Regions from separate parts of the Homo sapiens genome. Here regions 2, 3, 4 and 5 are each linked to region 1. Evidence: promoter capture Hi-C in 16 types of primary human blood cells and fetal thymus (Javierre and others, 2016). All regions are on one chromosome and are shown on one strand. The core of a region is centred on a gene start or on the middle of the fragment in contact, and the rest is flanking DNA. Distances in the headings are between cores, read along the strand shown.

Region 1 (5,565 bases), core at 1-2,500:
TTCACTGACGGCTTGCAATTCCTCCCCAAATCCCATCCCCAGGCCTTGCTGGCCCTTGCAGAGGCACTGATACCTGTTTCACTGCCACTGTCCGGGTCTCAGGATCTGCGACCAGCTCCACTGAGGATTGGAGGGGTGGAGTCAGGATTTGCATCCTTGTGTGATTGGGTCCCTCATTTCTGGGGAGTGTGGCCTGCTTCAGGCTATAGCATCCAGGGAGTAAGAGGCAGTTTATTTCTACATGGGATTGGCTCCTTGACATGCAGTAGCCAGATAGTGGCACTAGGATTGCCTGACACTGGTCCTTGCAAGGGACAGGGAGGTACTTTTCTCTACAGAATTGGTTTCCTCCTTGACAAAAAATGTGGCTAGATATAGGTCCGGGGCTTGGCCTGTTACCATCCATCCCAACCTAGCGACATTTACTTTTCTCCACAGGATCATTTTTCTCTTGACGAAGGTCGTCGCCTGTTTCTGGATTTCCCGATGGCCTGAGCATCATCCGCGCAGTGAACATCCTCCCTAAATCGGCTCGATCCCCTCTCCCCCAAAGGATCTAGCTAATTCTAAATCAAGCACAAACTTTATCTTCCTGTACTCCCTAGAGAGCACCTTCCGACTTCGGGGCTGGCTGCACCACTGCAATCCCGCGTAGCAGCCAAGCGTCCCTCTGGATTGTTCCCGCTTTTGCAGCAGGCCACACCCCCTCCAGCTCAGGCCCCGCTCACCTTGAGTTCTGGAGCACTTCCGGTCCGTAACCTGGGTCAGGGGTCCCCTGCCCAGGACCAGGGCTTGCCCGTCCGAGGGCAGGAAGATGGGGGGCGCTCCCCCAGGGGGGCTCTCGAGCCACAAGCGGCCCGGGGCCTCCACCTCGCCCATCCTGGGTGCCGGCCTGGGGAGCAGGTAAACGGGCTTGAGCGGCGCACAGCCCCAATTTGCTGCAGGAAGTCCCGCCTCCTCCCACATCCACTAGAAAGTTTCCCCACCATTAACTGCTCCGGAAGTCCCACCCGCTCGCCTTCCGCGGGTCGACCCGTTTCCCAGGCGACGACGCGTGCTCCATCCCTCCCCGAGTTGCAATCCCCACTTTCCAGCGTACAGGCAGAGAGCCTCGCACATGCCTCCGCCCCGCCCCGTACTCACCCGGGACCGCGGCTTGGGCTCACGGCCACTTCCGACCAGGGAGGTCCTGCCCGAGGTGCCCCGCCTGCAACCCGGCCGGCGGCGGTCGGTTCCTCGGCGGACGGAAATGACTCGTCCCCTCGTGGGTGGGGGGCGGGGCCTGGCCTCCTCCCACAGCAGCCACGCCCCTTCCCCGACTCCCGGCCCCCAGGGTCTCTCGGCAGCCCTGACCTTCATCTCTCTTGCTGCAACGCGAGGCTCAGGCCGGTAGCGGGGACTGGATCCTCCGTTAGCAGATTTGCCTCTTTCCACCTTGACTTCTAATTTTCATCCCAGGGAGGAAGATTTTTTTCCCATCTGATGGTCATTGTCAGTCGAGGAAACCTCCGCCCCCGACAGCGCCCCTAAGTCCTTCTTTGGCTTCACCCTCGATGTTCTAGTTTCCTCATCTATAAAAAGGATAATCGTTTCCGCTTCGTGGGGTTACCATGACGATTAAAGGAGCTAACACGTGACAAAAGCTTTAAAAAATGGGTGGTAGTGAGCCCTGTTTAAGTCTTTTTTTTTTTTTTTTTTTGAGACGGAGTCTCACTCTGTCGCCCAGGCTGGAGTGCAGTGGCGCGATCTCGGCTCACCTGCAAGCTCCGCCTCCCGGGTTGACGCCATTCTCCTGTCTCAGCCTCCCGAGTAGCTGGGACTACAGGCGCCCGCCACCACGCCCAGCTAATTTTTTGTATTTTGAGTAGAGACGGGGTTTCACCGTGTTAGCCAGGACGGTCTCGATCTCCTGATCTCGTGATCCGCCCACCTCGGCCTCCCAAAGTGCTCAGATCCGTTTAAGTCTTATTTAGTGTTAGCATTCTTTCGGTAGTGGTCTGGTGGGACTACGTTTACCTAGTCCTAATTTCGGACGAGGTTCCACCTGCTTTCTAACCTCCAGCCATTTTTTTTTCCCTTTGGAGAAGGGGTCTCACTGTGCTGCCCAGGCTGATCTCGACCTCCTGGTGTCATGTGATCCTCCCGCCTTGGCCTCCCAGCGTGTTGGGCTTATAGGCGTGAGGCACCAAGCCCAGTTGCTCCAGTCCTTTTATAATAGAAGACTCCCGGCTGGAGTTCCTGGCTTTGCTGGTGAATATGTGGGCTCTGTCTCCAACACTCACCTCCTCAAGATTGGGTTCCATGGTCACATAAGACTGGGATGCTCTCCTCCACCCCATGAACCTGTGTCTTCATATCTATAAAATGGGCACAAAGCCAGGCGCCGTGGCTCACGCCTGTAATCCCAGCACTTTGGGAGGCCAAGGCGGGTGGATCATTTGAGGTCAGGAGTTCAAGACCATCCTGACCAACATGATGAAACCCTGTTTCTACTGAAAATACAAAAATTACCCGGGCGGCAGTGGCGCGTAATCCCAGCTACTCGGGAGGTTGAGGCAGGAGAATCGCTTGAACCTGGGCGAGAGTGGGACCCTGTCTCAAAAAAGTAAATAAAATGGGCACAGTAATTCCAACCCCCAGCTATTCACTGATAATCAGACGCTGCCATTCGGTTTCAGAAAATGTTGAATGAACACTCACAACACACTTCACATTTATCTCAGAGGTAAAACTCTTTAATCTCAGAGCGCCCCTCCCAACTGCCGATCCCCCAACCCCTCACTCTCTCCCCCACACCAGGGCCGGAGAGTGAGGGCCCCTGCCCCCCACCTTGGGTGGACGAGGGCCCTTTAAGGCACCTGTGGAGGTGGGGGGCGAGGGGCGGGAGCTGGTACCATCCTGGATGCAGGGACGGGCTTCGATTGGCAGGCTGTTGTGGGGATGGATGGAACCAATGAAAGGGGGTGCCAGAGGCAGGGACAGTTTGGGGCCATCCCTGAGGGGGTCAGGGAACAAGTTGTCGGGACGTGGGCAAAGACGACCCCAGTCCCCGTAGTGTAAAGAACGTAAATTGAAGGCCCCGGGCCAATTCTGGGAAGAGGAGGGCTTGGCCACGCCCCCAGGAAGCTGGAGCCAATTGGGAGGGAGAACTCAGGAAAAGCGGACGGTGACTATGTAGAGACTGGTCAAGCCCTTTACAGGATTTGAGCCAATCAAAAAAAGAGCTGTCCAGCGACTAGGGGATGGAGCCAATGCCGTGCGAGCAAATCCCTTGTCGCTAGGCGGAAAACAAAGGAGTTGACCCATTTAGAGCTTAGAACTCAGCGAGCCAATCCCTTAATAGAAGGAATCTGTCGCTAGGCGGAGAGAGACGACAGACCCAATCGGGAAACGGGACAGATGCCGCTCCTCGGCGCGGCAGGTCGTGGGCTGGAAGGACGGCGGGGATTGGCAGAGGCGGGACAATCTTGGGAATGGGAGACGCAAGGAGGCCGGTCCCGGATCGGCCTCAGATTAGCAGGCCCCGGGAGTGGGGCGGGGGCGTAGTGTGGGACGGGGCGGACGCGGCCCGGGGCGCTCCCTCCCTGGACTTCAATATTTCCGCTTCAGCTTCTGGAAGTCGCTGGTGTTAAGCCGCGGCCGTGGCAGGTCCCCGAAGACCTGGGTGTCCTCGGCCTCTCGCAGCACCAGCGCGCGCATGCTCGCCGCGATGCGGTCCAGGTCGGGCGAAGAGGGCTGCGGGGACGGCGACGGGGCGAGGTCAGCGCCGGCAGGGCAATCCCCCTGCACCCACACGCGGTCCAGGGGTGCACCCGGGCTCCAAGCCCACTTCTAGCACGTCCCTGCCCTGCCACCTGTGCCCTGCGATGCCCACTGCCAGCAGTGCCCCTCCCCGTCTTGCTCCACGTAGGAACCCTTCTACCCGGTTCAGACACCTCCTCCACGAAGCCTACCTGCCCCTCTCCCTCTCCCCTTCTTGGCCTAGGACATTGCTTCCTACACAGTGGAAGTGCTGTTGCCTGCTAGCCATTAAGGCTGAGTGCACCGTCTCATGTCTGAGGATCTGGGCTGGGGTTTCAGTCATGTTCCAATCAGACCTCTGCCGCTGACAAACTATGAGCAAGAGGTTTTGCTTCCCTAGGCCTCAGTCTCCCCTTCTGAAAAATGGGGCGGATAACAGGGTCTCTGTGAGGGCTGAGATAATCAGCTGTTACTGCCTTATCATGTGGCCACTGCGCTACAGAAAAGATCCCTCGCTGTGTCAGCCCCCGCCAAGGAGCCTGCAGTTCTGGCACCTAGTACTGCCTCCACTACAGCCCCCGTCACCCGGAGCTGGGCCTGTCCCCTCGCAGGATGGGACCCGGAGACCCAGATCAGGAACTGGACCTGAGCCCAGTGGGAGACCAGCCCCCGGGCACAGCACGCAAGAGGCCAGAGCATTCAATTAACTGTGTTGCCATGAGTCGCAAGCACAGAGAGCAGCAGCAGGTGGACCCCGCCCGCACCAGGCCCTGTTCCTGGTCTTCAGTGCTCACTGCTTCATTGAGGGAGGATGCACAGAAAAGGTCACCACTGTGACTGCTGGTTTGCATATAAGGACACTGAGGCTTGAGGGGGGGACTGTGGGGACCCAGGCCTCCTCCCTCAAAGCCCACAGCTCCTTCCTGAAACACACCTGGGTTCCAGTCCCAGCTCTGCCTCTCAGGGAAGTCACATGTCCCCTCAGTGCCTCAGTTTCCCCTCTGCTTCAGGGAGGCTCAGTGAAGGGTGAGGAGGACCCACCTAGGCCAGCAGAGCCCAGCCCAGGAGCTTCAAACAGGGGTTGCTACAAGGGGTGAACAGGGGACCAGGGGGTGGGACAAATTCTGCAAAGGGCTAGGAATGTGCAGGGTGGGGATGGGAGGTGATCTGAACCCTCCAAGCCTCAGTTTCTCCACTGGAGGGCATGCCAAAACACCTGTGCCTTGCCCAGAGCAGGTGTTCTATAAATAGAGACGCTCCTGGAAAGGAGAGGCCTTCTCTATAAGGCACTAGGACACATGGTAAGGCTGCAATTGTTAAAACTGCAAGGCTCGTGTCCAAGAACTCGCCTCTTGAGGTTGAGGGGAGGATTCAGTTAGCTTATGGGTGGAAAGCAGCATCCATGCTGGAGGGCTTCCTGGAGGAGGCGGCTCAGAGCCCTTCCAGCTGCCCTCCCTACCTCCCCACATTTGCCCCTCACCGGCCCATTCTCCTCATCTGATGACCGCGCCTCTGTCCTCTTCTCCTTGAAGCCCCAGACGGGCACAGACACAGGCAGGGACTTGGCGTACTGCTGTGTGGGTAGGGCTGAGGCTGGGGGCACTGAGCAGGTGGGGGGGCCGGCGGGGGTCTCCTCGCTCAGGCTGCCATCTGAAAGAGAGGGTGGACTTCAGCTTCTGTCCCTGCCTTTGTGTCGGCCGTGTGCCTGCCCTCAGGTCGGGAGGGGAACAGCCTGGGACACTCACCATCTGTACTCTCGGGGTCTGACTCACAGAAGGGGGGAAGGTCCTGGAGGGTGGCGTCCTCATCCATCACAAAGAGCCC
Region 2 (5,565 bases), core at 1,668-4,167, 7.6 Mb before region 1:
GTATAACCACAGTACCTACCCTCAGAGAATCTTTATGTAAATTAAACAAGAATTTGCTTATTAAGCACTTACATTGAGCAAATGCCCAGTAAAAGCTCTGGGCTCTCCTGGGATCCACATTTCCCATCTTTCACAGGTCTCATTTCCTCTTTTCCCCCTTCTCTTCTGGCCCATGGCTCTGAAACCCAAGCCTCCAGCTCTCTGGCTCAGGTTCTCCCACCAGTCACACCCAGTCCCCAAACCTCCCTGTCCCCATCCCGCCCAAGCTACCTTGAACCTCTTGTCCTGGAGAACCTTCTTGATGGCGACTAGTTCCCTGGTCTCTGCCAGCCGTGCCTGGTACACGACCCCAAATGAGCCATTGCCAATCACTTTGATGTCCGTGTAAGCCACTTCTTGGGAGCGCTCTGGGCCTTGGCCTAGAGTGGCTACGACTGTGGTCACCTTCCCGCTGTCACCTGGGGAACAAAGGGGATACACGATCCACTGACCCATCCTGCCTGCGCATCACCCTATCCTGGGGCTGTGGGAGGAAGGGAAATCTCTGCAGGAAGCTCGTTGGGGACCTCTTTGTCCCCTCCTCCTCTTTGAGGAAAGGTGGATGCTGGGACCTTCCCAGTGACTTTTCCCCTCTTCCTTTCTGGGAATCTTAAGTCCTGCTCCCCTCCACATAGGAGGATATTGATACCTAAATCTCTCTGCTTCAAGGGTTGGCAACCCCAAATTTCTACTTCTAGGAAGCAACAGATCACTGGTCCATCTTGGTACTGGGAGACATCAGATGTTGACTCCATCTACTCTGGATCTACTGCCCTCTGGCCCCTCCTATTTGGAGAAAGCTTGACCGAGCCTCTTCCACTTCAGGGAGCAGTAACCCTGAGGTACTCCTACTTTAGGAAAGCACTAACCTCTCTCACAGCCTAGAGGATACTGACCTCTAAGTCCTCCCCTGTAGAGCTGGTAACTTTACTGGTTCTTGGTGACAGAAATGAATGTCCTCTCCTGCTATAAGTGCCAGTGCCCTGACCCTCACTTTTTGGTACTTTGAGGTTAGAAAAAAACACTGACCTGACCTCTTCATCTGAGTGGTCCAGAGACCCAGACCCCTCACTATATGTGGGTGGTCCCTAATGGACAAGCACCAAATTATGATAATGATGAACCTGACCTTTATTATCAAGGAGCTATTCCAGCCTCAGTCCTTTGAAGGAAAGCTATAATTCCCAATTCCCATTATTCAAATGGTGGCAAACCTTGGTGCCATTCTTAGAGGATAGTGACCCCTTTGAGTAACTGATGAACCAAATCCATTTTTTTGTTTTTTTTTTTGAGACACAGTTTCGCTCTCGTTGCCCAGCTGGAGTGCAGTGGCACGATCTCGACTCACTGCAACCTCCGCCTGCTGGGTTCAAGCGATTCTCCTGCCTCAGCCTCCCGAGAAGCTGGGATTACAGGCGCCCGCCACCACGCCCAGCTAATTTTTTATATTTTTAGTAGAGACAGGGTTCCACCAGTTGGCCAGGCTGGTCTCGAACTCCTGACCGCAGGTGATCCGCCCACCTCAGCCTCCCAAAGTGCTGGGATTACAGGCGTGAGCCACCGCGCCCGGCCACCAAATCCATTTTGAGGGGCCAGTGACAAGTTCTTTCAGAGGGAGATAACCCTACATCACTTTTTTTTTTCAGAGCCAATGACACCATACCTTAGAACAATTATTAAAAAAGTATAACCTTAGATCCATATTCTGTAGGAAACTGTGACCTACCCTGCTCCATTCCATTTTTGTTAAAGGAGACACACCAAGCCATGTATTTTAAAACATGGACTATGGACTTGGTTTGAAGGATATGCTGACTCCCAATGTCTTTATATCTAAAAGGCAGTAACTATTAATTCTCACCATTGGCAGTACAGCTCAACAAGATTTAGGGTGGGTAATGATGCCAGGTCTTGGTTTTAATAGGGAAGATGATCTGAGTACCAGGTTTGGAAAGCCTGGCCCTATTCTTTGGGGACAAAACACAGTAACCTCAAAGCCCTGCTTCTAAGTGATATTCGCTCCAAATCCCCATCTTCTGAAGGACAGGGAATGCAGATCCCTCTTTTTCGGGGTTGGTCTTATTCTTGTTCTCTTAGGAGACAATAACCCTAGATCCCCATTTGCAAGCGACTGTGACCTCTGATCCAATATTATAATGAATAGCAACATCAGATACCTGTTCTTAAGGCTCAAGGACCCAAGACCTCAATAATGGAAGAACAGAGACTTGTAACCCGTTTCTTTAAGTGTTAGTAATTCTGATCCACGAGTAATTCTGATCTCCAAGAGATGGTAACCCCAAGACTCCTTTTCCTGGGAGGAAGAGGGCTCGGATCCCCGGTATGGGGAGGCACAGTGACCTCGAGCTCCTATCTAAGCACATGAAAGAATCTGATGGATGTCTGAGGAGCTTTGGGAACCCTAATCACCACCCTACACGGGCGCCACTAGTACTCACGGCCCAGCTTCACCCCGGGCGGCGGGAAGCTAGTGCCTGCGCCGGGGCCTCCGCTGCCTCCTCCGCCGCTGCCGCCGGGTCCACCCCCGGAGCTCGAGGCCCCGACGCCCCCACCCATGGCCCCGACAGATGCCTTTCCGCCGCCGGTGCCGCCTGGGCCGGAGGCCGAGCCTCCGGGGCCGCCGCCGCCTCCTCCGCCTCCGCCGCCGGGCTCCGCGAACGAGCTAGTCCGCGCCCTGCCCGAGCCCCCAGGGCCGCCTCCCGAAGGCCCGCCGCCGCTCATGGCGCCGAGCACAGGCCCAGGCTGCGGGGCTCGGGCTGCCCGGGCTGCCCCAGCCGCCGCCGCTGCCGCCGCCTCCCCCGGGCCCTGGCCTCTTCCAGGCCGCGCCGCTCTGGCTTGGGCTCCGGCTCCGGCCCAGCGCCCGCCGCGGGGCACGCCGGGAGATGCAGTCCGGCTGTCGTCCGCGCCGCCGTCACCGCCCTCGGCCCGCACAGAGAGCCGCGTGGCACGCCGGGAAATGAAGTCCACAAAAGCCTCAGAGTAGACCGCGGGAATGATGGGCGGGAATGACGGGTCACGCTGTACGTCGGGAAATGGAGTCCAGGGTAATCTGTCAGCCGACTGTACGACGGGGAGCCCTGAAGCACTTTAGGAAGCAGAGAGCCTGATGCACGCTGGGAAACGGAGTCCACTCACTCAGTCTATTAGCTGTGTATGCCTCCCAGAGCTCGGTGCGCTCTGGGAAATTGAGTCGGCCCGCGTGAACCTGCGGGTCTCGGGCCGTGAGGCAAGCCGGGAAATGGAGTCGTCGCCACGCCCTCACCGCATTGCAGGTGTAAAGCGATTTTTAAAGCACGCCGGGAAATGGAGTCTCAGGTGGTTTTTAAGCCCCAGGTGGATACTGCAGTTCCGGAGATGGGCGAGGAAATGGAGTAGGTTTACGCGCTCCTCTTTCCAGGTACGCTGGGCCGCAGTCCCTGCCGGGAAGTGTAGTCAGCACCAAGGCCTCAGTGCAGTTGCCACAGCGAGCCCTGGTGTGTTCTGGGAAATGGAGTTCGACGTATCCTCCCCATTGACTGAGGGGGCGGGATCGCCCATGAGCTCCAAGCATGCTGGGGAATAGTCCAGACCTGACCCTCTGTGAGGCCAGTCTGCGGAGGCTTGCCGGGAAGCGAAGTCCAATGGCCACCATCAGGGGCGTGTGAACGAAAGGTTAGAGACTGCGGCAGTTCCCTGGAGAGACTTAAAAGTGTTTCAGCGCCTCCTTCCTCGCCCCCAGGTCCTTCTTTAAGAAAGAGCCGAGGTCGATCAAGGACTGCTGGAAAATGGATCCAAGCACCTTTAAGTTCCAGGTGACCATAGATCAGGAAAGAAAAAATGTCCCCTCTCTAACCGCAACTCTGCAAAGATTCGGGAAACAAAGTTCCCGGCGGTTTCTCAGAACACTAACTAGTCTTCGGATACAGTCTAGCTTTTCCTAGCAATGTGGTTCGCACCAGGAAGCTGAATGGAGCATTAAAAAGACGGAAATGTCATTTCTGGGCCTGGCGCTGTGGCTCAGGCTGGGCGCCAGTAGCTCACGCCTGTAATCCTAGCACTTTGGGAGGCCGAGGCTGGCGGATCATCCGAGGTCAGGAGTTCGAGACCAGCCTGGCCAACATAGCGAAACCCCCGTCTCTACTAAAAGTACAAAAATTAGCCGGGTGTGGTGGCGGGCGCCTGTAATACCAGCTACTCAGGAGGCTGAAGCAGGAGAATCGCTTGAACCCGGGAGGCATAGGTTGCAGTGAGCCGAGATCGCGCCACTGCACTCCAGTCTGGGCGAAAAGAGTGAGACTCCGTCTCAAAAAAAAAAAAATCCTGTCTTGAACCACCATTCAGTTTTCAGTTTTTGGTTTGTTTTGAGACAGGGTCTCGCTCTGCCGCCCAGGCTGGCGGGCAGTGGCGCAATCACAGGTCACTGCAGCCTCTAACTCCCAGGCTCAAGCAATCCCCCCACCTAAGCCTCCCATGTAGGTGGGACTACAGGCGTGCACCATCACGCCCAGCTAATTTGGTTTGGTTTGTTTTTTGGGGTGGTGGGGGGTAGCGGGGTGGGCTTCGCCATGTTGCCCAGGCTGGTCTCCAATTCCTGGGCTCAAGCGATTCTACCTCAGCCTCCAACGTGCTGGTATTTCAGGCTTGAGCCACGGCACCGGGCCTCCCACTCTTGTGTTTTGCATCCTCCGCTTCCTAAATTACAAGATCCCGGAAAGCCAAAAATAAGGAAGCCAGCTGCCTCAGGTTTTGTGTACTCAGTGAGTCGTCCTATTTATCGATTAATACCCGAAGGAGAGTAGCCCCCAAAAGGCGCTGGGAAACAGAGTTCCTGTGTCTGTATGTGTCTCTTCCTCCCCCGGAAATACTTAGAAGTAGAATGAAAGCGTTCTCAGCCCCTCCCGCATCCTGGAATGGTGGGAAATGGAGTCTCTGGACTTCACGTTAATCCGAGCTTGTGCTTATACTAACTGTCCTGTCCTTTCTGAAACCAGAAGAAAGTCCTGTCCACTCAGTTTGTTCCTGACTGCAATTCCCCGCGGACACAACTGCGGGGGTCGGTAGCGCCAAAGCCTGTTGAGACTACATTACCCAGAAGGCAAAGTGCGGAACACTTCCGCTCCCTTCACAAAGCAGGTGGCCGCACCACGCGCGGCTAGGCGCGGGCGTTTCTGGGAGTTGCAGTTTCCCAGCCAAATGGTACCTGCTGCCCTCTGATGGCAGCTCTGAGTCAAAAAGTAAAAATTTCAGTCGAGCCCCTTGGCCTAGGGATTCCAACGCGGGACCAAGACGGCTCAAAAGGGCGGCGACATGGGGCAGGATAGCGAGGGTTATTTAACCGCCAGAACCCGTGGGGCATGCGCCGCTGCGTGTGGGCAACCGCCACGAGGGGATTGGGGTCCGTGGGAGTTTGAAGGTGACGGTCTGCAATCTATCAGGATGTTTGTAGAGGATGAGAATGTTCATAGAGGGATGCTAGGAAGGGTTGTAAACGTCTGAGAGAGGCCTATGGGTGTCTAGAAGGGCTAA
Region 3 (5,565 bases), core at 1,398-3,897, 5.8 Mb after region 1:
GCGGAAGTTGGAGGAGTTGTTGAAGGTGCGGTCGCAGAGCGTGCAGCGGAACGGGCGCTCGCCAGTGTGGATGCGGGCGTGGCCGCTAAGCACCGAGGACTGGGTGAAGCCCTTGCCGCAGATGCCGCAATGGTATGGCCGCTCGCCAGTGTGCACGCGCTCGTGGTCTCGCATGTCTGAGGAGCGGCGGAAGGGCTTGGCGCAGAACCTGCAGGCAAAAGGCTTCCCCACCGCTGCGCCCGCCGCCGCCGCCGCCATCACCACCTCCGCCCTCTCCGGGGCCACCCCGGGCCTCTGTTCTGCAACGGCCGCTGTGTCCGGAGGCCTCCGAGAGGTGCCCGGCTCCACCCCGTGCCGGTGCTGGTGCCGGAGCAGGGGCGCCAAGGCCTTGAAGGCGCGGGGGCAGAGCGCGCAGCGGTAGGGCCGCTCCCCCGTGTGCAAGCTGTAGTGCGCGCGCAGGCTGGCGGGGCCCGGGCAGCTGTGGCCGCACACGTGGCACCGGCTCGGGTCCCCACCCTGCCCGCCTCCCTCGGCCCCAGCCAAGTGGCCATGTTCGTGGAACAGCAGCTCGGAAACCAGCCGGAAGGCAGCAGGGCACAAGGCACAGTGGAAAGAACCTGGCTCCGGGGGCTCAGGGACCAGCGTGGTGTCCGTCACCTTCACCACCTGGATCTCGATGAGGTCACTCGGGGGTGTGCCAGGCCGGCAGTCATCAGGCACCAGGACCTGGGCAAGAGGAGAAGAAAGAGGAGCCTGTGGAACCTGCCTCAGGACCGCCCCAGCACGCCCCAATTATTAAAGCTTGGGCTCCTCTGTTATTTTCAGACAGGGCCTCACTCTGTTGCCCTGGCGCGATCGTGGCTCATTGCAACCTTGACCTCCTGGGCTCAAGCGATCCTCCCACTTCATCTCCCTGAGTAGCTGGGATTACAGGCATGCACCACCACATCCAGCTAGTTAAAAAAAAATTATTTCTGGCTGGGCACGGTGGCTCAGGCCTGTAATACCAGCACATTGGGAGGCTGAGGTAGGCAGATCACCTGAGGTCAGGAGTTCGAAACCAGCCTGGCCAACATGGCAAATACCGTTTCTACTAAAAATGCAAAAATTAGCCAGGTGTTGTGGCTGCTGCCTGTAATCCCAGCTACTCGGGAGACTAAGACACGAGAATCGCTTGAACCCAGGAGGTGGAGGTTGCAGTGAGATGTGATCATGCCACTGCCCTCCAGCTCAGGCGACAGAACAAGACTCCATCTTAGACAGCAAAACAAACAAAAATTATTATTATTATTTTTAATGTAGAGGGAGTCCCACTATGTTGCCCAGGCTGGTCTCCAACTACTGGGCTCAAGAGATCCTTCTGGCTCTGCCTCCTAAAGTGCTGGGATTGCAGGCGTGAGCCGCCGCGCCCGGCCCATCCTCCAGGATTCTGTTGTATCCTCATCAACATTTCCTCTCCTGTCCAAAATATATCATGGATCCCACCTTTTGTCCTCCACCCTAGTTAAAGCCCCATCACTTGGCGCCTCCAAAATTGAAAAACCCAAGGGCATCTCTGTTCCTATTTCTGCTGGCTTGTAACCCACCTCCCAGGAATAGCCTGAAGGTCTTTTGAAAATGTAAATCAGATCAAGTCATTTTTCGCACTCAAAACCCTCCAGTGGCTCCAAATGACTTATCCCAAATCGTCACTATAATATCTGTGGCGATGTAGCTCCACTTATCTCTCTGACCCCAGCTTAAACATAAGCCGGCACCCAGCTGACTTCTCTCGTCTAAATTTAGCTGCCCCACCCCTACTCTTGGCTCAATTTATAGAAATTGGCTCAATTTTTATTTCCTTTATAGAACATATCACAGTAACTCTCCTTTATTGTCTCTCTCCTCTCAAGAGACTGCAGGCTCCAAAAGAACACAACCCTTGTCTGTCTTGGTCACTTCTCTATTTACAGAGCCGAAGTAGGAGCTCAGTAAATGTTTGTTGAATGAATGAATGTCCTCAATTAGTCTAATTCTGAGTGGGGTAACGTGGAGGAAGTTCCAAAGTCACCTAGACCACCCACTTCTACCCCCAAATTCTCCCTTGGGCATTCGAGAAGCATCACTAAGACCCTTGAAGAATTATCCCCTACCCCGACATAGGTGCTCCAATCATAATCCCCCACGTTTTTCAGGGTCACCTTCCCAACCTTCTACCCTAGAATTAGCCCTAGAATTTATGAGGCCCCGCCCCTTACAAGGCTCCACCCAAATTATGCAAATTATCCCTGGTAAGCCCCCTTCCCTGGACCCAAACCCGTCCCACAAGACAACACCGTCCTCAGACTCCGCCCCCATCCAGGCCCCGCCCACCACCCATAGGTCCCTCCCCCACCCCGCCCACCATGACATAGTCTCCTCCCCTGCCCCGCCCCTCGCGAAACCACAAGAAGCCCCACCCCCAGGGCCATAGCACTAAATACCTCCCTCGCCCACCCCCTCATAGGCCACGCCCCGGACCCGCCCCCCACACTACGACCTCCTCCCACCTCGAGCCCCACGCCCAGGCCCCTTCCTTGCCCGCACCAGGTCCAGTGGCTCCTGGGATCGCGACTCCGGAGTCGGTGAGCTCCGACTCTGGGCCTCTGGGCGCGCAGCGGCCATCTTGTGCCCAAGCCCCGCCCCCAAGGCCAATGTTCGCTCTGAAAGGGGGTGGGGCTCGAACTGGCGTAAGAGCTACTGCGCAGGCGCAGTGCGGGGCTGCGAGGGGGCGTGGTGCAGCAGGGGGCGTGGCGGGGCGGGGCGTGGCGGCTGAGCCCGGGAGAATGTGAGTTGTTCCCTCTCTAATTACCTGTCTGTCCCTCCGAGGGTACGCTCTGTGTGGCGCTAGGATGCCTGTAACACCCTGGGAACAAATCCGAACGTTCCTTCTAAACCAACGCAGGCCGACTCGAGGCTCTGGCTGTCAGGGGAACCTCAGCAGAACTGAAGAAGCTTTGCTTTGTTTCCACGGTAAACGTTTTTGTGATTACCTCTGCACTGCTCATGACAACGTAATGACGCCAAGTTTATAAACGTCGGTGTAGGCCGGGTGCGGTGGCTCATGCCTGTATTCTCAGCTACTCGGGAGGCTGAGGTGGGAGGATCGCTTGAGGCCGGGAGGTCGAGGCTGCAGTGAGCCATGATCTCGCCACTGCATGCAGCCTGAGTGACAGAGACTCTGTCAAAAAAAAAAAAAAAAAAGGCAGTGTGGAGAAAAATATTCAGTAAACAGCAACACAGGTGGTCCTGGGAGGACGCAAAAACCCGCAAGCTGATGTTATGTTTGGGAGGAAAGAGCTCAAAAACGCGGGGTTTTCAGCAGCATCAAGGACGGGGCTCTTCTTAGCTGCCCCGTTTAGTCATTCTGGTGGTATCACCTTGGATAAGTCACTACACTTCTCTGGACCATTTCTCTTTCTTTTGTGTAGCACTGTAGAAGCATTGTGACAAACCACTGAGAAGAGACATGGAAGAGTTTGGAAACATCTTTAAATAGTTTTCTTGAAAGGGCAGGATAGGAGATACTTAAACATGATCCTAAGCATGATCATTTCATTCATAAATATATATGAAATTATATTTTGTGATATGTTGGTATAAAATAAAGATAAACACCACTTAGGCTGAATTATCTCCTCCTCCTCCTTTCTTCTTCTTTTATAGAGATGGGGATCTTGCTGTCTTGCCTTGCCCAGGCTGGTCTTGAACTCCTAGCCTTAAGCGATCCTTCTGCCTTGGTCTTCCAAAGCTATATTTCCCTTCTTTTCTTTTGATTTTAAAATAATTTTTTTTTTTTTGAGATGGAGTCTCACTCTGTCGCCCAGGCTGGAGTGCAGTGGCATGATCATGGCTCACTGCAACCTCTGCCTCCCGGGCTCAAGCGATTCTCCTGCCTCAGCCTCTTGAGTAGCTGGGATTACAGGTGCCCGCCACCATGCCCGGCTAATTTTTGTATTTTTAGTATATACAGGGTCTCACCATGTTGGCCAGGCTGGTCTCGAACTCCTGACCTCAGGTGATCCGCCCACCTCGGCCTCCCAAAGTGCTGGGATTACAGGTGTGAGCCACTGCGCCCGGCCTAAAATAAATTTTTAAATGTTGTGGGTCCCTAAGAGTATCATGGGCCCTAGGCACTGTATCTACTACTGTGTCTAATGCTTAAGTCAGCTCTTTCTGTCCAGGTTTCCTAATTTGCAAAATGAGGGTGATAATAAAACCTACTTTACACAGTTGCTATGATGATTAAAGAAGTCATTATATATAAAGTATTTTGGACAATGTATGGCACACAGCAGGTGCTATGAGTTAGCTATAATAATTACTACCATTTGGCACTCCCACTAGCAATAAATAGGGACCTTTGTTGCTTAACATTCCTATCAATATCTGATACTCAAACTTTAAAATGTTCGCTAATCTCTTGGGTGTGAAATAATTTCATTTCTTTTCTTTTTTTTGAGAAACAGCCCAGGCTGGAGTGCAGTGGCGTGATCTCAGCTCACTGCAACCTCCACCTCCTTGGTTCAAACAAATTTCCTGCCTCAGCTTCCCAAGTAGCTGGGACTACAGGTGTGACACGTCATTACGTTATCGCAAGTGGTGCAGAGGTAACCACAAAAACCTTTACTGTGGAAACAAAGCAAAGCCTCTTCAGTTCCGCTGAGGTCTTCCACTGACTGCTAGAGCCTCGAGTCGGCCTGCGTTGGTTTAGAAGGAACGTTCGGATTTGTTCCCAGGGTGTTACAGCCCAGCTGATTTTTGTATTTTTGTTTTGTTTTGTTTTTTGTTTTTAGTAGAGACAGGGTTTCACCATATGTTGGCCAGGCAGGTCTCAAACTCCTGACCTCAGCTGATCGGCCCGCCTCGGCCTCCCAAAGTGCTGGGATTACAGGCATGAGCCACTGCGCCTGGTCTATTTCTTATTGAGAAGCTCTTTATTAAAAGAGATCATTCATAGCACCCAGAACTCATCCTCCAGTTTCCCTTTTTTGAGAGCTGGAAGTATGTCATCTCTGTATCCCCTCTGTACATCCCTATAGAGAAGGCATGTATATGGCTCAGTGAGTGTTTGGTGAATGAATGAGTGAGAAATTGAATTCATGCAGATAGAAGAACTTTGTACCAGAGCTTAAGGCTATTGAGTATTTTTTCCCTTTTTTTTCCTCCCCACCCCCACTAAAGCTATTAAATATTTGCAGAGGAGAGCACTGTTTAGTGGAATTACCATAAGCTTTCAAATCAGGCAAACCTGGGTCCAGATCCGTTTATCTGCTTGCTGTGCAACTCTGGGCAAGCAATGTCTCCTCTAAGTGTCTAGCTGACATCTACAAAGTGGGCACCATAATGTCATTTGGCAGGGTTGTAGTTAGAATGCCACTGATTGAGAATGCCAAAGGTCTGTGTGATGCCTGGAACCAACTGGTGCTCAATAAATGTGGGTTCTGCCTGGGCTTGGTATTCTCTACTAAGAATACAAAAATTAACATGCACAGTGGAGCACGCCTGTAGTCCCAGGAACTTGGGGAGCTGAGGCAGGAGGATTGC
Region 4 (5,565 bases), core at 1,350-3,849, 5.7 Mb after region 1:
ACCTGTTCCTGCTCCCGCGCTCGCGCCCCGCGAAGCCGTCCGGGCGCGCGCGCGCAGACCCCCTTCCTGGCAGCCCCCGCCGCCCGCTTACCCGGCGCCGCTCATTGGCCGTCGCCCCCGCAGGGCCCGCCCCGCGCTTGGGCTTCGCAGCTCGGGGGCCGATGGGCGCGTCAGTACCGGGGCGAGGGGACGGGGAGGGTCGGGGGACCAGTCTCCCCCTTTCCACCGTTCCAAAGACCAGACTCCTAGACTAGGCTACCCCGTGGGAGCGAACCGTATGGAAAGGTGGTTGCTCCTCTCTGGACAGCAGTCTATGTGGCTGTTAAAGGGGAGGGGGGGGTGCAGGGGGGCACCTGCAGCACCTGCTTCCAGCTGCACCTGTGCCTCCCCTTCCCCTCCGTTACACCCCAATCCCATGCTCCCAGTATCTGAGTGGGCGCCGGGAAGATGGTGGTGGCGTTGGTGAAGTTTATTGAGTGCTTACTGTGCACCAGGCAGTGTTCGAGGGGCATTTTAAAGCCCACTGTCTTATTCGATTCTCCTGACAACCCTGGTTTATTCACTTTTCAGAGGAGGAAACTGGCAAAGTCAATTGCTAGTTATAGGCAGAGCTGAATTCAAACCCAGGACTGAGCCCTCGTAATGTCCCCTTTCCTCCTTGGGTTTATTTGTTCTCCATTCTCTGGGACATTCGGGTCACAAGACCTGTTTCCAGTTTTGGCCCTGCCATTTACTGGCAGAGGAACTTAGGCAACTGACTTGGCTTTCCTGTGCCTCAGTTTCCCCATCTGCAAAATGGGACAGATATGCCCTATTCAGAGGGTTGATGTGAGGCTTAGCTGCTCCTGATAACAATGGCTAATGTGTCCTGAAAGCTTCTGTGTATGAACACTTTGTGGGTATTATGCTCATGGCATGTCTGGGCAAGTACGTAGAACTATGTGTCCCATTTTGCAAAAGTCTTGATTAAGGCTTAGAGAAGCGAACACCTTGCCCAAGGCCACGCAGAGAGTAAAGATTTGAACGAATGATGTCTTGACTCCAGGGCCCAGGCTCTTAACATCGCAGATATGTTTCCTCATCCAGGAATCAGGGTCAAATATCACCTGGGACCAGTCCCTTTTTTCCACTCTGGAACCCCTTCCCCACTTCTGCCAGTCAGCAGGGAGGGATGAGAGCATTCGTGAGGCCTCTATGGCTCTGGAGTTTGATGGGCTCTCCGTTTCAAGGATCACAATACTGGTCTGCACTCTCAGTTGGACTCTATCCTCTCTGGAAGGTTTTTTTTTGTGGGGAGGTGGGGAGGGGTGTTGCTCATGTTGATCTTGAACTTCTAGATCCAGAAGGAGAGTTAGGGAGGCATAGGGATGTCTGGTGGAGCTCAGGGAAGTGCCTGTTTATCAGCTGATACAAGATCATCTCACTGTTTTACCCACCAGCATAGCTAAAATTGTGTATCTGGATGAATGTCAAACACACCTTTGTCAAGAGACTTGGAGAGAGGGATGGGCGAGGTGTTGGGGGACACAGGGGTGCTCTAGACCCTGTGAGCACTGACTCTGCCCCTCTCTCCTCTTAGCTGGCTCCAGTGCCCAGACCCAAGCCCCCCACTGCTCAATGGACACCCCCAGCCCAGACCCGTTGCCTTCGCCTTTGCCCGGGGAGGAAGAGAAACCTCTGGCCTTATCTCCTCCTGTTCCCCGGGGCCGCCGAGGCCGTCGTCCTGGGGGAGCCACCTCCTCAAATCGGACACTCAAGGCCTCCCTCCCTCGCAAGCGGGGCCGCCCCCCCAAGTCAGGGCAGGAGCCCCCACTGGTGCAGGTGCAGGGGGTGACAGCCCCAGTAGGCAGCAGTGGCGGGAGCGACCTCCTCCTGATCGATGATCAGGGTGTGCCCTATACGGTCTCTGAAGGTTCAGCGGCTGGGCCTGAGGGCTCTGGCCCCAGGAAGGCCCCACACTTCTGCCCGGTGTGCCTGCGGGCCTTCCCCTACCTCTCCGACCTGGAGCGCCACAGCATCTCGCACTCAGAGCTGAAGCCGCACCAGTGCAAGGTTTGCGGCAAGACCTTCAAGCGCTCCAGCCACCTGCGGCGGCACTGCAACATCCATGCCGGCCTGCGGCCCTTCCGCTGCCCGCTGTGCCCCCGCCGCTTCCGCGAGGCGGGCGAGCTGGCGCACCACCACCGCGTGCACTCGGGGGAGCGCCCGTACCAGTGCCCCATCTGCCGGCTGCGCTTTACAGAGGCCAACACGCTCCGGCGCCATGCGAAGCGCAAGCACCCGGAGGCCATGGGGGTACCCCTGTGTGCACCAGATCCAGGGTCTGAACCGCCGTGGGACGAGGAGGGCATCCCGGCCACAGCAGGGGCCGAGGAGGAGGAGGAGACAGAGGGGAAAGGGGAGCCGGCCTGACCCACACCCCCGGCCATCGCTCCCTGGGCCAGGTTTAGAGCAGGGAGTTTGGCTGGTGCTGGGCCTGAGCCAGGGGGCCGGGACACCCTTGTTTCCGGTGGTCTTCCCGTTGTGGGAGCAGGTGGAGGGTGGAGACCTAAACTTTGGGGTCCAGCTGCCTTCAGCCCCCCTCCCCCAGACTAACAGACCCTTGGAGGCAGGGGCTGTGGAAATAAATCTCTGCCTGCTGGCTGCCTGTGTGTGTTCCGTGCCGGGATGCCATCCTCTCCTGCCTTCAAATGTTCTTCCTCGGCTACACCGTCCTGTCGGGAGTGCGGGGAATTGGAGAGGACCCCACTTCCTGTGCCTCATGAGCGTGGTGCTCGCCAAAGAATGGTTTTGGGGGGAACCTTGGCCCCTTCCCCATCTCCATCAGACCCCAAAGTCCATGGGTCCCTCGGAGTCCGCGGGGAATTGGTTCCACGAACCTCGCAGATACCAAGATCTGGGCATACACAAGTCCAGCAGTGGGCCCTGCGGAACCCGCGGATGTAGGAAAATCCGCCCTTCGTATACTGTATGTTCCACCGGTGTTTGGGTGAAAAAACGTCCGCCTCTCAATGGACCTGCAGTTCAAACCCCTGTTGTTCAAGGGTCAGCTGTATTCCCAGTACACATCCAATCTAACTAAAAACATTGAACCTTCCATGCAGACCTGACTGTAGGTCCGACCGCCTCTCTCCTAGCCAATTCCCAGAAATTCTGCAGCCACTTTGCCCCACCTCCTTGTCCTGAGGACCTACTGTTTGGAAGGAAAAATTAAGACAAAGGTATGAGCAGGACGGTCTGGGTAAGGTTTAGAGATAAGGGGTGTGGATTGGGGCGGGGCTAAGGAGCGAGGGGTGGGGCTGAGATTGCGGGGCAGTTAGGCTGGGACCTGGGGCGGGGGCTTAGAAGAGGGTTAGAGTTGGGTGGGGCTTAAAGAGGTTTAGGGGTTGGTCCGCAGAAAGTGAGAGCGGTTTAAAGAGGATGGATAGAGTTGATCTAATAGAGAGTAGGGGCTTGGAGCTGGGGAAGAACAGGAGGAACTGCGTGAGAGTGGGGCAAGGAGGACGGATAATTTTTTTTTTGAGACAGGGTCTCGCTCTGTCATCCAGGCTGGAGTGCAGTGGCCCTATCACCGCTCACTGCAGCCTCGACCTGCCAGGCTCAAGCGACCCTCCTGCTTCAGCCTCCGGAGTAGCTGAGACTACAGACGGGCGCCAGCATATTTAGCTAATTTTTTTTTTTTGAGACGGAGTCTTGCTGTCGTCCAGGCTGGAGTGCAGTGGGGCAATCTGGCTCACTGCAACCTCTGCCTCCCGGGTTCAAGCAGTTCTCTCCCTCAGCCTCCCGAGTAGCTGGAATTACAGGCGCCCGCCACCACGCCTGGCTAATTTTTGTAATTTTAGTAGAGACGGGGTTTCACCATCTTGGCCAGGCTGGTCTTGACCTCCTGACCTCGTGATCCACCCGCCTCGGCCTCCCAAAGTGCTGGGATTACAGGCGTGAGCCACCGCGTCCAGCCTAATTTTTGTATTTTTTTTTTTTGTAGAGACGGGGTTTTGCCATATTGCCCAGGCTGGTCTTGAACTCCTGTGCTCAAGCAATCCGCCTGCCTTGGCCTCCCAAAGTGCTGGGATTACAGGCGTGAGCCACCACGCCAGGCCAAGAGAACGGATTTTAAGGTGAGGGGCGGAGCTTATAATAATTCAGCTCTGAGGTGGGCGTGGTTCAGGGCCGAGGGCCGGGGGCCGGGGCTTAAAGGAGAAACTCTGAGGGAACAGGGTATTGGAGGTGGGACTTAGAAGGTGCTGATGGGGGCGCACGACTGCTATGGAGGCGATGGGGAGAGAAGGAAGTACTTAATCTAAGGGAAGTTCCTGGGAGAGTGGAAGCTTAGCAGGAGGGGCTGAATGGGTCTGGGTTTGGCTGTTTGGGATGGGGCTGAGTTGGGAGCCGGGATTATAGCGATTATATGAGCGGGCAGTGTCAAGTGTGGTAAATCCATGGCTCTTGACCAGCATGCAGCAGAATCAGAGTATTTCAAAACACGGATCCCTAGACCCCCAACCCCAGGGCTTCTATTCCGCATGGTCTGAGCAGGCAGCCGGATGCTGCTGGCCTCCCAACTATCCTTGACAACCACCGATTTAAAAGAATGCTTTAGAGGTGGGAGGCACTCAAAAGTCACGAGGTGCAACTTAAATGCTATGGGGTGAAGGGGCGGGGCTTGGATGGAGGGGGCGGGGCCTAGGGAGGGGTGAAGTTCCAGAGAGTGGGAGCTTGGAGAGGGGGAAGAACAGGAGAAACTGCATGAGGGCGAGGGGACGAAGACAGACTTTGAGGCAGTAGGGGGCTTATAATCACGCTGTGAGATGGGCGTGGTTCAGGGCCAGGGGGCGGGGCTTCAGTGTGAGACCCGAGCCGGAGGTGTGGCTTAACCGGACGCCCAGAGCGTGTCGCGGGGTTCCCGTAGAAGAGGCGGGCATTCAAAGCGCAGGCGCACCTGGCTCAGTTCGCCCACCGGAATCGGCCCGGGCTTTCACTGCTCGCGTCCCCGAGTCAGTGCGCAAGCGCATTTCCCCCCTCCTGGTCCCCGCCACCGCCTCCTCTTTCCGATCCTCCACGCCGGCGCCTCGGGAACGGGCGCGACTTCCGCTTCCGGGCGGGCGGGCAGGCGGGCGGTGCGGGGCTGCCGGGGAGGGGGGAGGGGGCGGCACTTCCGGTCGGGCCCTCGGGTCTCCCCGGAGCGGCGGCGCCTCCTCCGCCTCCTCGGCCTCCTCCCGGCGGAGACCCCGGCGCCGGTGAGTGACGGGGTGCGTGGCCCGGGGGCCCGGGTGCAGCGGGGGCGGGGGGCCCCGCCCTGGCCCGCTGTGGTCCCCAGAACGTCCCCCAACCCCTAGCAAGTCAGTGCAGCTCCCGCCGGGCCCTTGCCAAGGGACCCCCAATCACTGCTCCCCGGTAGGATCACTGCAGATAGCTCCCCCATGAACGCCCCCAGCTAGGATGGCTGCCAAAGCGCTTTCATTCGTGGCGATCCCCTAAACGGCTGCCAGGGCCCCCAAATGATACCTCCTCGTAGGATCCCCTCCACATAGCGCTCCCCGTCATTGCTTCCTCCAGGTCAGCCTC
Region 5 (5,565 bases), core at 1,112-3,611, 5.5 Mb after region 1:
TCAGTACATATTAACAAAGTGCCTAGGCCAGCCATGGTGGCTCACACCTGTAATCCCAGCACTTTGGGAGGCTGAGGTGGGTGGATCACCTGAGGTCAGGAGTTCAAGACCAGCTTGGCCAGCATGGCGAAACCCCACCTCTACTAAAAATACAGAAACTAGCTGGGCATGGTGGTGGGCACCTGTAATCCCAGCTACTCAGGAGGCTGAGGCAGGAGAATCACTTGAATTCGGGAGGCAGAGAGCCGAGATCGCACCACTGTACTCCAGCCTGGGCGACAGAGCAAGACCCTCTCTCAAAAAAAAAAAAAAAGAAGGGAGCATCACTTGAATGAGCCCCTAGAGAGACCCTGTCTCTACAAAAATTAAAGGATTAGCCGAGCATGGTGGCATGCGTCTGTGGTCCCAGCTACTCAGGAGGCTGAGGCTGTAGGATCGCTTGAACCCAGGAGGTCGAGGCTGCAGTGAGCCATCCTTGCACCACTGCACTCCAGCCTGGGCAACAGAGGAAGACCCTGTCTCAAAACACAATACAGGCCAGGCATGGTGGCTCATGCCTGTAATCCCAGCACTTTGGGAGGCTGAGGTGGGTGGATCACCTGAGGTCAGGAGTTCGAGACCAGCCTGACCAACATGGTGAAACCCCGTATCTACTAAAAAAAAAAAAAAAAAAAAAAATTAGCCGGGCATGGTAGTGCATGCCTGTAATCCCAACTATTTGGGAGGCTGAAGCAGGAAAATCGCTTGAACCTGGGCGGCGGAGGTTGCAGTGAGCCGACATCGCACCATTCCACTCCAGCCTGGGCAACAAGAGGGAACTCTGTCTAAAAAAAAATTAGCCAGGGGTGGTAGTGCATGCCTGTAATCCCAGCTACTTGGGAGGCTGAGGCAGGAGAATCGTTTGAACCTGGGAAGCAGAGGCTGCAGTGAGCCGAGATCACTCCACTGCACTCTAGCCTGGGCGAGAGAGCGATACTCTGTCTCTGTCTCTCTCTCTCTCTCTCTCTCTCTCTCTCTCTCTCTCTCTCTCTCTCTCTCACACACACACACACACACACACACACACACACCAAAACACCAAAAACAGCACACCAAAACAGCACCTACTCTGTGGCATGCATTGTTTTAAGTGCCCACGATCTATAGCTGTACAGTGGAGCGCATGTCTGACAGTGATCCTATATGTGTAGACACACAAGCGCCTACATTGTGTTACCGGACAGTAACATGCTGCACAGCTGTGTGGCCCAGGAGCCGCCGGCCACCTTACAGCCCAGGTGCCAGCAGCCCTGCCACGTAGGTGTGAGTGATGTTGCTCTAGGATGCTGGCAGGATGACGACATCGCCTGAGCACGCACTGCCCAGATGGTATCAGTGTCGTTAAGGGAAGAATGGCTGTGGCGAAACAAACAAACAAGCAAACAAAGACCGCCTGTTCTGAGTGTGGAGCTTATTATTCTCGGCGTAATTATGATGAATTGTTAGTTACGTTTGCCTCTAGGATTGAGGTAGGGGGGGTGATCCCAATTAGGGGGTGCCCCAGGGGAGCGCCCCAGGAGTCAGGGCTTGTCTCAAAAGTCCCCACTCCTCCCTCAGCCTCCCCTCCCTCCATCCGACCCCGTTCATATCGCGGGAAGGTCCCACAGAGTGCGTGTGGATACTCCCAAAACGCAACGGTGTAAACGGGGAGGGAGGGAGAGAGACTGAGGAGCCCTTTGTAGCCAGGCAGAGCTGTCAATAAAGTTTCGTCGCCTTGGTAACCGCAGGCCTCGCGGGGCGGGAGGGGAGAGGGATGGCGGTGCGCGCGCATTCACCGCCTCCCTCCCGCCGGGTCTGGCTTTCTCCCTCCTGTGGCCGAAGCTTTCCTCGGAGAAATAGAAGAGGGAGGCCGCGACTCTATGGTGATGGACGGAGGCCTTACCCAATGGAAAGAGGAGCTGTCCCAAGGCCAGGCAATCATATACGACTACTGGAGCTGGCAGAGCCCGCCCTCTTTCCACTTGGACCTGAATAACCCGACCCAAACCGAGTTTCGCCCGGAGAGACTGCGCTTTCGGCCAATGAGTGCGTCGATTTCGAGCCCCAGTGTGAGCGAAGGCGGGACAAGTCTCCATGGCAGCGACTAAAGGACAGCGATGTGAACCACTGACAACAGTTCGCGGCGTTTGACGGCGGCGGGGGCGTGGCGGGGTTTTATCTGTGTATTGACGAGAGCCGGGCGCGGAGGGAAAGAGTGGGGCTTGGCCAATGGGAGCGCCGTGAGCTTCGTAGCAACGGAGGAGTGGCGGTGGCTGTGGCCAATAGAAAGCCTCAGTGGCCTTGGCGGGGCTGGCCCGGAGAGCAGATGGGAGGTGCGGCGACAGTGTTTGACGAGAGCCGAAGGAGGCTGTGGGAGGTGTTGGCGGCGGCGGCGCGGGCGCCTGAGGAGGAGGAGGAGAAGCGGGTGAGGGGCGGCGCGGGGCCCGATCTCTGAGCCCCTTCACGGCCCCAGCCCCGCGCCGCCTTGGCTCCCCAGTCGCCCCCTGCCCCGACTGCCCCCCACCCCGCCCGGCCCCTCCTCGTGTCCAGGCGCCCACGTCTCCCGGCCCCTCGCCGGGCCTCGGGCTCCGCGGCACTGCAGCCTCCTTCCTGTGCTTCCTCACCCGGGCCCTGACCCCCTTCTTACGTCCACGGCCCTCCCTGCATCCTCAGGGCCTCTCCCTGACCTCTTGTCACTCTCCAGGCCTCTCCCTGCACCCCCCAGGGCCTTTCCCTGACCTCACCCTCCAGGCCTCTCCCTGCACCCCCAGGTCTCTCCCTGCACCCTCAGGGCCTCTCCCTGACCCTTCTCTCACCCCCGGGACCTCCCTGCACTCCCAGGGCCAATCCCCGACCTCCTCTCACCCTCCAGGCCTCCTTCTGGACCCTCTAGGTCTTTCTGTGCCCTAGAACCTCTCCCTGACCCCTCTGTCCCTCTCCTGGCACTCCCTGGACCCTGAGGTCGGCCTCTGACCCTCCAGGTCCCTTGCCCTGGGCTCTCACCGCCTACCCAGGCGCCTCCCTGGGTCCCCAGGCCCTTCCCTAGGGTCTCCCTTTCCTGGATCCCCCAGGACCCCACCAAGCCCGTTTGGATCCCTGGGCCCCTGTCCGCCCTCTCAGGCCCTTCACTCACTGGACACCCAGGATCTTCTCCGCCATCCCTGGACCGCCCCCCGACCCAGGTCTCCCGTCTGGCTCCTCCCTGAGTCCCTAGGCCATTCCCCGCTCTCTGTCCTCCCTGGCACCCCCATCCCTTCCTCACACCCCTCTGAGCGCCCCCAGGCCCGGCTGCAGCCTTCTCCCTCCCACAGCCCCCTGCCGTGCCCACCGCTGTGCGTTTCTCTCCTTGCCCCCAGCCCCCTCTCCAGCTTCCCCGCTGTCCCTGGCGTCCTCCTGCAGCGCCCCCTCTTTCTCTCCCGCAGCCTCGCAGTCTGTCCCCGACCCCTCCACAGCCGTCTCTGCAGCTCCCGCTCCTTGCCCTGCCCCATCTCCTCCTCTCCTGGGCGCGGATGAGCCTCGAGCGCCGTGGTGCGGGGACGAGGCTGGCCCTCCGTCCGGGTTAGGGGTTTGGGTGGTTTTCTTCATCTCTCCGTTCTCTCCTGGCTCCGCTTTAAAAAAATGTTTTTGTAAATATTGACCTGTGCTGCCTCCCCATAGTCTTCCTTTGCTCCCCTCCCCACCCCCGCTTTTGTCCTCTGAGCCCCCCTCCCCTGGAATCCTTGGAGAGGGAGCAGGTGCTGGGATCCCTCCCCTGCCCTCCCTCCCGTCACCCGCCTCCAGGCTGCCTGGGGCTTCACCCGGAGCCTCCTGACCACTCCCGAAGGCTGCCGGGGAGGCAGGGGGCGGAGACCGAGGCTGGGTCGAGGTGGGGGTGGAGGGCGGGACCTCGGGCTGGCGGGAAGCTTTGACTTTTCCTCCTTGAGGGCTAGAGGTGAAGCGGCTCCCCACGGTGCTAAGCCTTTAGGGTGATCCCGGCTGCCAATCAGTCAGCCTTCTCTGGGCCCAAAGAGATGTGTGTGTGTAGGGGGTCTCTGTACATATGGGCAGGGGCATCTGCGTGTGTCAGTCTGAGTGTGCATGGGTGTGCATGTGGGGGTTGTGTGTTTAGGGGGGATCTGTGTCTGCGCTGCGGAGCAAGAGCAAGAGCTAAGGCGATGGCTGACATGGCTCTGGGCTTTCCCTACTCTCAGAAGTACTTGTTGCATTCCATCTTCGCCAGCGGCCTGGTGAAGTCAGCACTGCTTTTCTCCCCATTTTGCAGATGAGATCGTGGGGCTCACCAGCGTCCCCCATGGCTTCTGAGTAGCGTGGGAGTGGAGTCAGCACCAAGCCAGGCTCCCCGCGCCTGCCTTGCCCTCACCTGCTCCTGCTCTCTGCCAGAGGCAGCATGGTCCGCAGGGCACCATGGGGCCCGACAGAGTGACAGCACGAGAACTGTGCGAGAACGACGACCTGGCCACCAGCCTCGTCCTGGACCCCTACCTCGGTTTCCGCACCCATAAGATGAACGTCAGGTGAGGTGGCCTGGGGGCGAGGGTGGGCCCGAGGGGTCAGGACCCCTCCCCTTGCACCGCTGCCGCCCCTCGGCCCTCTCCTTAGCCTGGTCCTCCCCTCAGCTCCAAGTGGGGGTTGGGGCCGGGGCCCGGGAAGGCCCTGGGACCCAGGCATGCCCTCTCCCCCAGCCCTGTGCCCCCCCTGCGGCGACAGCAGCACCTGCGCTCAGCGCTGGAAACTTTCCTGAGGCAGCGGGACCTGGAGGCTGCGTACCGGGCCCTGACGCTGGGAGGCTGGACGGCCCGCTACTTCCAGAGCCGGGGCCCGCGGCAGGAGGCTGCCCTCAAGACCCACGTGAGGGCGCCCTCCCCTCCCCCGCCCTCACCGCGTGTCCTCCCCGCTCACCGGGCCTGGTCCCGCCTGGCAGACGCTCTAGAGTCCCTCAGCGCAGCCCCTGGGGCCCCCTGACTTCCTAGCCCTTGGGACCATCTGAGGCAAGGCTCAGAGAATCCTAGGAGAGGAGAGTTGGGGGGGCCCTCTGAGATGTAGTCCAACCTCTTCATTTGACGGATGAGGAAACTGAGGCCCCGAGAGGGAACATGAGGCCCCCAAGACCACACAGTGAGTCAGTGGCATGGCAGGCCTAGAGTCCTGGAGAGAGAGGGCCAAAGATGCCCCTGCCCCGCCTCCTCACCCCCACCCTCACCCTCACCAGGTCTATCGCTACCTCCGTGCCTTCCTGCCGGAAAGTGGCTTTACCATCCTGCCCTGCACGCGCTACTCCATGGAGACCAACGGGGCCAAGATCGTGTCCACTCGTGCTTGGTAAGAGGGCAGGACTCCCTGCAGGTATCCTTGGAGGAGACAGAGCTCAGAGGGGACAAGAGAGACCCTCTGTTCATGGACTGGCCAACCGGGGAAAAGCGAGGGGCCTGGTCCTCCGGGCATCCTAGGAAGGTGGTGGGGCTAATCCCGGAAGACCTTTGTGGCTACCGTGGTGCCGCTGGAGCAGGAGACCCCGGATGTGACCCCAGGGTTCCTGGGGCTTCCAGG

What was found. Contacts are between HindIII fragments. The CHiCAGO score rates a contact against its expected background, and 5 or more counts as called.
Region 2: the fragment with the promoter of GSK3A here is called in contact with the fragment with the promoter of PNKP in region 1 in 1 of 17 cell types (non-activated CD4 T cells); the score reaches 7.8 in non-activated CD4 T cells.
Region 3: a contact is called between the fragment with the promoter of ZNF784 here and the fragment with the promoter of PNKP in region 1, in 1 of 17 cell types (naive CD8 T cells). The highest score is 6.8, in naive CD8 T cells.
Region 4: a contact is called between a fragment that was not itself captured here and the fragment with the promoter of PNKP in region 1, in 1 of 17 cell types (naive CD8 T cells). The highest score is 5.9, in naive CD8 T cells.
Region 5: the fragment with the promoter of KMT5C here is called in contact with the fragment with the promoter of PNKP in region 1 in 8 of 17 cell types (fetal thymus, total CD8 T cells, naive CD4 T cells and 5 more); the score reaches 16.0 in fetal thymus.

The regions. Positions count from the first base shown.
Region 1 is chr19:49,866,326-49,871,890 of GRCh38, forward strand. PNKP (polynucleotide kinase 3'-phosphatase) reads right to left here and starts at 1,251. Exons shown (of 17, transcript NM_007254.4): 1 at 1,144-1,251; 2 at 729-892; 3 at 74-120. The coding sequence starts at 879. AKT1S1 (AKT1 substrate 1) reads right to left here. Exons shown (of 5, transcript NM_001098633.4): 3 at 5,487-5,564; 4 at 5,222-5,391; 5 at 2,714-3,735. The coding sequence ends at 3,592. RefSeq lists enhancers at 1-706, 707-1,488, 3,687-4,334 and silencers at 648-1,017, 1,088-1,387, 3,462-3,771. The HindIII fragment of the contact is 3,228 bases long and covers 1-1,641 here.
Region 2 is chr19:42,239,685-42,245,249 of GRCh38, forward strand. It overlaps GSK3A (glycogen synthase kinase 3 alpha), which reads right to left and starts at 2,918. Exons shown (of 11, transcript NM_019884.3): 1 at 2,499-2,918; 2 at 271-458. The coding sequence starts at 2,781. RefSeq lists silencers at 2,460-2,739, 2,770-2,979 and enhancers at 3,270-3,479, 3,409-4,203, 3,540-3,589, 4,204-4,997, 4,600-4,659. The HindIII fragment of the contact is 12,371 bases long and covers 838-5,565 here.
Region 3 is chr19:55,621,919-55,627,483 of GRCh38, forward strand. It overlaps ZNF784 (zinc finger protein 784), which reads right to left and starts at 2,648. Exons shown (of 2, transcript NM_203374.2): 1 at 2,566-2,648; 2 at 1-726. The coding sequence starts at 2,643. RefSeq lists enhancers at 2,629-3,128, 2,879-3,028 and silencers at 2,629-2,678, 2,749-2,808. The HindIII fragment of the contact is 2,172 bases long and covers 800-2,971 here.
Region 4 is chr19:55,600,496-55,606,060 of GRCh38, forward strand. It overlaps ZNF524 (zinc finger protein 524), which reads left to right. Exons shown (of 2, transcript NM_153219.4): 2 at 1,580-2,643. The coding sequence starts at 1,618. The coding sequence ends at 2,412. It overlaps ZNF865 (zinc finger protein 865), which reads left to right and starts at 5,152. Exons shown (of 2, transcript NM_001195605.2): 1 at 5,152-5,237. RefSeq lists enhancers at 1-141, 2,120-2,670, 3,774-4,325, 4,326-4,877 and silencers at 1-298, 4,921-5,420. The HindIII fragment of the contact is 3,453 bases long and covers 874-4,326 here.
Region 5 is chr19:55,337,515-55,343,079 of GRCh38, forward strand. It overlaps KMT5C (lysine methyltransferase 5C), which reads left to right and starts at 2,362. Exons shown (of 9, transcript NM_032701.4): 1 at 2,362-2,443; 2 at 4,280-4,532; 3 at 4,701-4,866; 4 at 5,228-5,337. The coding sequence starts at 4,423. RefSeq lists enhancers at 506-1,280, 1,281-2,054, 2,364-2,433 and silencers at 2,454-2,513, 3,759-3,938. The HindIII fragment of the contact is 2,060 bases long and covers 1,859-3,918 here.